Regions from separate parts of the Homo sapiens genome. Here regions 2 and 3 are each linked to region 1. The links are contacts of gene promoters, found by promoter capture Hi-C in blood cells and fetal thymus (Javierre and others, 2016). All regions are on one chromosome and are shown on one strand. The core of a region is centred on a gene start or on the middle of the fragment in contact, and the rest is flanking DNA. Distances in the headings are between cores, read along the strand shown. Region 1 holds the start of TCF12 (transcription factor 12). Region 2 overlaps TCF12 (transcription factor 12). Region 3 overlaps ZNF280D (zinc finger protein 280D).

Region 1 (2,902 bases), core at 221-2,720:
GCAGATGGAGTTCACGCTGCCTAGTCTCCACGTTGCTTCCCCTCACCCTTTATTTAAAAGAAACAAACAAACAAACAAACAAAAACCTCAGCAGAACCCCAAGATGCCATGGAAAGCTCTCATACCGCACTGAAGTCCAGTAGGTCGCTCAGCTCCTTGTCGGTCCCTATAGCGGCCATGCGTTGTTGCTGGGGATTCATCTTCGGCCACTTCTAGCAGGTCCTAGGGCAGAGGAAACGGGCTCAGCGAGAGACCACCGAGGCCCAAAGTGTGTGAGGGAACAGAGAGAGGTACTGGGGAAGATTACGCAAGAGCGCTGGGGGCGCCGGGATGACTTCCAGGACCCCGACTCGCTCCCACCGCGGCGCGAGCAAGGGGCGGGAGGGCTCAGTGCCCGCGCCGGGTCCCGGAATCCACGCGTTCCTCGCCGCGGCCCGAGATCGACGCGGCGGCTCCCGCAACTCGCCGCCTCTCCCCCAAGTTTCCGAGCCAGTCTCTGCCACCTCCTCGGCGCCCCCTGCTCCGCGCCGCCGCCGGGTGCTCCGCGCGCCGGGCCCGGCCGCGGCTGGGGTCTCGAGGAGCGGGGTGAGGGGCAATTCGGCGTCCAGCGAGCGGAGCGGCGGCGAGCGGAGATGCGAAGTGACTCACTCGCTCGGCAACAATAGAACTGACAAGTTGCAGGGAACGCGCCGCTCGCAGGCCCGCGTCTGCGGCCGCCGCCGCCCGGACGTCCCCGGCGGGCCCAGGAGGTCGGAAAGCACCCCCAGCTCATCCAAGGGGCGTTTTTAAACAGAAAACAGAAACCCCGACAACTAGTCTCGCTCTCGGCCGGCGTCCTCCTCCCCAGGCTCGGCCTCCTCCCACTTTTGCTGCCCTGCCCCGGACCTGCCGAACAATGAGCCTGGCTCCGCGGCCGAAGCCGCCCGATCTCCCGCGCGCCCCGGAGCCTGGGCGCCGGCCCGAGTCGGGCACCGAACGGGGCGCACAGGCCGAGCGCGCCGCCAGCGGGCCTGAGCGCCCGCGACTCGAGCCTCCGCCCCCACTCCGCTCCCCAACTTGGAGGGGACCCCGGGTTTCGCGCTGTACAAAGGGGCGCGGAGTTGAGGCGGGGGACGGGGGCGCCCCCACTCCGGCAGGGACGCGGCGGCGCCCCGCAGCCCCCAGCCCCGCCGCGCCGCCCCACTCCCGCTCGCTAGCCCGCAATTACCTGCCGCCCCGTCTCCGCATCCAACCACCCCGATTAAAGTTCACTTTGGCCGGGAGAACGGGCTTGGGCTTCCCCTTGCACCGCCCAGCGGCTCGGTTCACTTTGCCCCGCACGAGCTCTCGGGTCTGGGAGGGGGAGGCGGCTTTCGGGCCTGGCCGCCCCTTCCTCCCGGGGCGGGCTGTCGGTCCCCCCGAATAGAACTTGTGGGTCTCTTCAGGCGGACATTTTTTTCGCTGAGGCGGCCTCACCACCGCGCTCGGCTCGCCTCCGGATCCCTCCGCGCCGGGAAGAGCCGCGGGTTAACCCTTCCCTCCCCGACCCGCTCCGCCGCCTAGGAAGTGGGGCCGGCAGAGGGGGCGGGGAGGAGCTGTCGGGGACTGGGAGGAGCCGCACCGCGGCGGGTGGACAAAGCCCGCGGTCGGGTGAGGCGGGACGGAGTTGGGGCCGGTGGGGAGGGGCATGAGGCGCTCGCAGGCACCTCGAGAAGCAGGCCCCGACCGCTCGCCGACGAAGCCTCGTCCGGGCCTCCTGGGAGCGGGGTGGCAGGTACCGTGGCGCCTCCTCGCGTTGGTCTTGCTGGTTCTCGGCCCCCGAAGCGGAGCGACGGAGACACAGCTGTGGAAGCATCTGGATCCGCTGCCCAGGTCCCCGAGCTTCCCGGAACCCGAGGCCGCAGGACACTGAAGGCTGCCATTCCCGAGTAGGTCACGCTGGACGCCACCCTAAGCTGGGCCCAGAGGCTCCCGTCCAGGAGGGCTGCAGTCGGCGCAGACACCGCGCGTGTGGAGACGGGAGACCCATCCTCCTCGGCCGTTCCGAGAGTAGGCGCGGCCGGTCAGATTCGATGCAGAGCCGAATGCGGGAGAAAGGGCAAAACGTACCTCAAACCAGACAAAGCCTTGTGAGCTTCAGGTTCTCAAATACCCCACTCACCCAGACCCCACATCTCCAGTCAGCCCCTCGCACCCAAATCCCATTCGGAGCAACCGAACTGCACGTGGGACTAGTTCTTGGGAATGGATCAAGCCAGTCTCTTCATCTAACGGAGACAGCCCTGGGTGGCTCTGTCACACAGCCACTGTCTTGTGCACAAGTTCTGAACTTGGCCTCAGAGAAGCCCCAGAGTAGAAAGAAGACAAAATAAGCCCCAGTTCTTCGATTCTGGGCTGAAGTGAGATTTTCTTGAATGGCAGCCATTGTTTTGCCTCTTAGGTAAGTGAGTGCAGTAAAGACCGGTAAGGCCCACGCAGAAGAAACACTGAGGAAAGAAGACACTTCCAAAGTAACAAATGGGAGGAAGCAGCCAACGCCCGAGGACAACATGGCAAGAAGGAGCCTTTGGATTCCGGACTGGGATGGAAAGAGAGGTAGATTCAGCTACCATATGCCATTACTGTAGTTAGTACAGTTGTCTCTATATCCGTGGGATTGGTTCCCAGACTCTGGATTTTCTAAGATGTTCAAGTCTCTTACATAAAAATGGTGTGTTTCCCCATATACTTTAAATCATATCTAGATTACTTATAAAACCTAATACAATGCAAATGCTATGTGAATAGTTGTTAAGGTGTATTTAGGAAATAATCATCCAAAGAAATCTCTATATTTTCAGTACATTTTCAGGCTATATTTTAGGCTCTATATTTTCATGTATTTTCAGGCCTGGTAAGCCTAACTACATTTTTTGTTTTCAGT
Region 2 (2,902 bases), core at 292-2,791, 290 kb before region 1:
ACTGTCCATGTAAATAGAAATAACTACAGTGTTCTTTGCTGCTGAAAAGACTTTTAGTTTTCTGATGAAAACCTGGAGCTCTCTCTTTTCCTCCCTGAAAAGTGTTTACAAAGTTTAAGCATGTTAGATGTTTTATAATACAGTGAGTTAAAACATACAGTTATGTAGCTATCTTTCTCCTGAAGATAATTTAGATTATCTAGTATGTAGCTCATACCTTGTCTGAGTCAGCTAAGCATGGTCTAGAAAGAAGAGCTATGGCTGTATTGCTAATCATTTGCCTTTGTTCATTTATTCAACAAATAGTTATTAAGTATCTGTTATGCACCTCTGTGCTGCAGGTGCAATAAACAACATAAATAAAATCCCTGCTTTATTATGTTGCTCCTGGGTAACACAGATAAAGAATAAACGAATTAGGCCATATCAGATTGTATGAAGTACTGTAGAGAAAAATACATCAGGAAAAGAGTGAGGAGGTACTAGGGGTATGTTGCCCTTTTATATAGGATGGTCACAAAAGATCTTCATTGACAGTGTGATATGACATCAAAGAGAAAACTAGCCATTTGGATACGAGGGAAAGTGTGTTCCATAAACTGCAAATGCAAAGGCCCTGAGGTAGGAGTGTGCTTGACATCTTTAAGAAGCAGTAAAAAGGAGAGTATGGCTAGAGTGAAGTAAGGGAGGGGCAGAGTGGTAGAAGATGAAGTCTGAAAGGTGGCAGGTGTCTTATAAGCCATTTTAAAGATGTTGGTTTTATAATAAGGGAAGCTACTGGAGGATTTTAAGCAGAGGAGTATATGATCTGACCTAGATTTTAAAAGGATGTTCCTGTGTCTAAAAATAAAAACAAAATAAAACTGGAAGACCAGTTATAAAGCTGTTGCCATAATTTAAGAAAGAGGTAAAGGTGGTTTAGACAAAGATGATAGCTACACAGGTGACCACGAATGGTTAAATTCTTGAAGAGAATTCTAGTAAGAGAAATATAAGACTGTCCTCTGTTTCAAATTTATGTCAATGAAACCGTAACTTATTTCCTTTAGAAAAATAATTCCTGTATTGTTGTTTTCCATACTTTTCTTTCGCGTGAGGACCATGGCCCTATATTTTTAATTAGGTCATCCTAAAACAATGTAGAATTAATGCTGATGGCTGAATTACCTGTAATTTTCCTGCTTTCTGTTTTGGTTTTGGTAAAATGCTCCTATTTTGGTAACTAGGAATTAACTGCATAATTGAAGGGAGAAATGGGACATATAATTCAGTTTCTTATACAAAGAAGGCCAGTTAACATATTGAAGGTTTGAACAATCAGAGAAGTAAGTTAAAAAGTACAGCTTAGAGCAGGAAGTCATTAACAGGTGATGTTTCCTATTATAGATACATAAAATAATGGCCTTGTAGTCCTTATTTTTATCCCTTTAATTCAAAAAGCATTTCCTAAATACTACATCATGTGCCTGGTGAACAACAATTATGCAACAAAAAACATTTTGGGCTGGCCGCAGTGACTCACACCTGTAATCCCAGCACTTTGGGAGGCCAAGATGGGAGGATCACTTGAGGCCAGGAGTTTGAGACCAACCCTGGCAACACAGCAAAACCTCTTTTCTACAAAAAATAGAAAATGTAGCCAGGTGTAGTGGCATGTGCCTGTAGTCCCAGTTACTCAGGAGGCTGAGGTGGGAGGACTGCCTCTCTGCTTGAGCCCAGGAGTTTGAGGCCGCAGCGAGCTATGATGGCACCACTGTACTCCAGCCTGGACCACAGACTGAATTCCTGTTTCAAAAGAAAAAAAAAAATTTTTTTTTAAGTTCTTTCTTTCCAGGCTGGGTGCAGTGGCTCACGCATGTAATCCCAGGACTTTGGGAGGCCAAGGTGGGTGGATCGCTTGAGTCCAGGAGTTCGAGACCTGCCTGGGCAACAAGATGAAACCCTGTTTCTACAAAAAAAATACAAAAATTAGCCAGTTGTGGTGGCACTTGCCTGTAGTTCCAGCTACTCGGGAGGCTGAGGTGTGAGGATCACTTGAGCCCAGGAGGTGGAGGTTGCAGTGAGCCAAGATTATGCCACTGCACTCCAGCCTGGGTGACAGAGTGAGACTCTGTCTCCAAAAAAAAAAAAAAAAAAAGGATATTTTTGTCCAAAGAACAAGGTTATCTTTTGACTATAAGAATCTTGGCCAGGGGCGGTGGCTCACAACTGTAATCCCAGCACTTTGGGAGGCTGAGGCGGGTGGATCACGAGGTCAGGAGTTCAAGACCAGCCTGGCCAAGATGGTGAAACCCGTCTCTACTAAAATTACAAAAAAATTAGCTGGGTGTGGTGGCAGATGCCTGCAATCCCAGCTACTCAGGAGGCTGAGGCAGAGATTTGCTTGAACCCGGGAGGTGGAAGTTGCAGTGAGCCAAGATCGCACCACTGTACTCCAGCCTGAGCGACTGAGCAATACTCTGTCTTTAAAAAAAAAAAAAAAAAGAATCTTGAAGTCAGGGTCCATATTTTATTCATATTTAAATCCCTAAAGTCTAAAATAGTTCTTCATTCACGATAAGGACTTAGTATATATTTGTTGATTTTGACAGAAGGGATTCATATTCTCCTGACTGGGAATCTACTAGATGGAGCCCATACTAGTAGCAAATAAGTTTTCTAAATCTCATTTAAGTTACTGATTTTTGAAATTTTAAAATATCTTTTGTGTTACTGGAGAAGATACTGAAAATCATGATTTCAAATAATGATGAGTTTGACAGTTTAAAAAATTGTCAAGCTCAAGTCAGAAAACTTGAAGTTTTCTTAGTTCTTACTTATTATTTTTGTTGTTGTTTTTTGAGACGGAGTTTTACTTTTGTTGCCCAGGCTGGAGTGCAATGGTGTGATCTTTATCTCGGCT
Region 3 (2,902 bases), core at 263-2,762, 270 kb after region 1:
CAGACAGTGCTATATCTAGTTAGTATACCTTGCATTTTTTTCTTGCAGCACAATGAAAAGGTTACTATACTAATTTCTTAAATTTTAAAGACTAGCAAAATGCCTTTTGTGATCTTAATAGCCATAAGGATAGGCAGGCCGGTTTAGATGACCAGTTAAAGCCGGTTTAGATGACCACCTATTATATGACGTGTTTCTTGCAATTAATTATCAAAAGAGTTGAATCTAATAGTTCTGAATTTCCAAACTAATTTATATTTTAAGTGAAAGGTTTTCCAAAATCTCCGCAAGTAGTTTGTTTCTTAGTAGTGGACTTAGTGATATACTAGTTGTTTTTTTTTTTTTCTTATTTGTCTCTAGGAATTTTTGTTATCTCCTCTCTCTACCCAGTTTTTAAAAGTTTATCCAGAAACAATAACTTTTTCCATTTTTAACATTAGTTCATTTACAGATATTCACCTTACCTTGGTCATAGGTCAAAAGCAGGATAAACCACATTGTTAATATAGTAATGTAGGAGTACAGTCAATCCTTCATATCCTTGGGTTTTGTGTCTGCAGATTCAGCCAACCATGGATTGAAAATATTTGGGGGGAAAAACAATAACAAATAACAATATAACAATAAAAAATACAAATAAAAAACAATACAATATAACAACTATTTACATAGCATTTACATTGTATAAGTGATCTGAGCATCTGAGGATTTTGTTATTCCTGGTGGAGGTTTGGGGAGGTAGGGGCGACCTGTGGGGTGGGGGCAGGTTCTGTAACCAATCCCCTACCAATACCAGGGAATGACTGTACTGCTTTGTGGTCTTACATAGACTTTTTTTTTATAGTATGTATCAAATTCATTTTCTTAAAGTATGAATTCTTAAAGTTCTTTCCCAGTAAATTCATTTTTAAAAAAAGGTTCAAATAAAACACTTGGCAGTCAGTACAAAGTTTGCTTATTGTAAGCAATTAGTTGAATTTTCAGTTTAGTGCTAATGAGTTTTAGTTTGAGTCTAATCCCTCCTTACCATCATTTTATTCTAGTTTATTCATCTGGTCAGATAGCCATTTCATGCATATGTGCTTTTTGGTTACTGTTGAATAAAATATGTGATTGGTTCAGTTTGAGTCCATCATCATTCTTAGAAAAATAATTATTAAACTACAGAGGCTCAGATTCTTGCCCTGTTTTTGTCACATTTTGGCAAAACACTTTGCCTCTTTGGGCATCATGTATTTATTCAGCGAATATTTATTGAGCATCTACTTTGTGCCTGGCATTGTCCTAGTTTCTAGAAATATAGACTAATCTCTGCTCTTATGGAACTTACATTATATTTGTGAAAGACAATAAAAGTAAATAAAACATATAATATGTTAGATGATGATCAATACTATGGAGAAATATGAATCAGAGAAGGGTGATAAAGGAGTATGGGGTAGGTGTTGGAAGGCTGCCATTTTTAATTTAGTGAGGCCTCACTGAGAGATGACATTTGAGTGAAGACATGAAACAGGCAAAGTCAAACTCAGTCATGAAATTGTTCTTTTCTGTTTCTCCCTTACCTCCATTTCTCCCCTCCTCTGTTTTCTTGTATATCTACCTGGATGGATGAATTATAACAAAATAGAAGTAAAGGTTTGAGTTTTGTAAGTTTCTTTTTCTTGACAAAAAGTTGAGAATAGAATGATAATTTCCTCTAACAGATCTTGAGAGTGTAAGAATCTGTGGTAAATACATAATAACTCAAGTTTGCTAAACTAGGCTACTTAACTGGTTGCCTATTTTATTGTTGAATCAAATATCCTAAAAGCCACAATTTCAAGAGATTTTAAAAGTTGATTTAGTTCTCTGAGTGACATCCATGTTTGTTCTAAGCAAAGTACAATGGGAAAGACATTGACAGTCAAAATATTAGAGTTAAAGGACCCAGCTGCCTCACTAACTTTATTTAAGGTACAGTTACTTCAGTTTCTTTTTCTGTGAAATCGAGTTGAAAATATCTTTGTTTTGAAGATGTTAGAAATATGTAAAATGTGTTTTACAGATGTTAATGTGTGTATTATACTTTATTAAATCCCCCTAATTTAATGAGCTTTATACTTAGCACCAGTAGTAACTACATGGCTCATTCACAGTATGATATAGACAACCTTCCCATATATTCTTTGTCACTGAACATTGACACCCTACTTTTTATGTGTGCAAGATTCTGTGTCAGGTGTTGGAAACATGAATAAAACATGGTTTATAGCACCAAAGCAATTACAGAATAAGGGAATTAGAAATGTAGACACTGAATCCACATTTTTTACAGGGACTATAGTCAACTGATTTCATAATCAATTAAACCACTAATATCATGTATATATTGCATTATGGGATTTTTTTTGTGAAATGCTGTATCAGAAGAGAATCTGGACCTATTCTCAAGGTGAAATAGCACTTTATTCTGCTATTCTCAAACCAGTAAGTCATTAATTATCTTTCATAAATGTAAGCAGTAAGTAAACTCTTAGGAACAGAATGGCAGCCTTTTTCTATAAATCTTATATTTTAAAATATTATTTCTGTTAAGAGATACTTACTGTCATTGAACCTGTGACCATTGAAGATATATAAGGGTTCATTCCATTATTTTCCTGTGAAATTTTGAACTTACTTGGAGGAATTATTGGCTCTGGTCATAATCCTAAATTATAACTCTGTAGCTCTTATGTGTTCAAAATTGTTGGGAGACTTCATTTCATTAATTTAGCAAGATTAAAAAAAAAAAACAAACTGATCTATTGAGTTCATTTTGGGCTTGTTTCCTTCTTTAAACTTTTGAAATGTGACCGGGATTTTAGCCCCTAGATTCTCTCATCCTACCATAGACATTAATATCTCAAACCGATCTTTA

Evidence for each region. Contacts are between HindIII fragments. The CHiCAGO score rates a contact against its expected background, and 5 or more counts as called.
Region 2: a contact is called between a fragment that was not itself captured here and the fragment with the promoter of TCF12 in region 1, in 4 of 17 cell types (activated CD4 T cells, naive CD8 T cells, non-activated CD4 T cells and 1 more). The highest score is 6.8, in activated CD4 T cells.
Region 3: a fragment that was not itself captured here is called in contact with the fragment with the promoter of TCF12 in region 1 in 1 of 17 cell types (fetal thymus); the score reaches 9.2 in fetal thymus.

Annotation. Positions count from the first base shown.
Region 1 is chr15:56,917,212-56,920,113 of GRCh38, reverse strand. TCF12 (transcription factor 12) reads right to left here and starts at 1,470. Exons shown (of 21, transcript NM_207037.2): 1 at 1,208-1,470; 2 at 126-222. The coding sequence starts at 200. TCF12-DT (TCF12 divergent transcript) reads left to right here and starts at 1,615. Exons shown (of 4, transcript NR_015419.2): 1 at 1,615-2,574; 2 at 2,902. RefSeq lists silencers at 431-870, 921-1,210, 1,301-1,350, 1,521-1,650, 2,171-2,310. The HindIII fragment of the contact is 11,533 bases long and covers 1-2,902 here.
Region 2 is chr15:57,207,616-57,210,517 of GRCh38, reverse strand. All of the region lies in intron 8 of TCF12 (transcription factor 12), which reads right to left. Among named protein-coding and RNA genes, the nearest start is that of SNORD13D, 70 kb to the left of the region's middle. The HindIII fragment of the contact is 5,108 bases long and covers 1-2,902 here.
Region 3 is chr15:56,649,485-56,652,386 of GRCh38, reverse strand. All of the region lies in intron 19 of ZNF280D (zinc finger protein 280D), which reads left to right. Among named protein-coding and RNA genes, the nearest start is that of ZNF280D, 83 kb to the left of the region's middle. The HindIII fragment of the contact is 4,877 bases long and covers 1-2,902 here.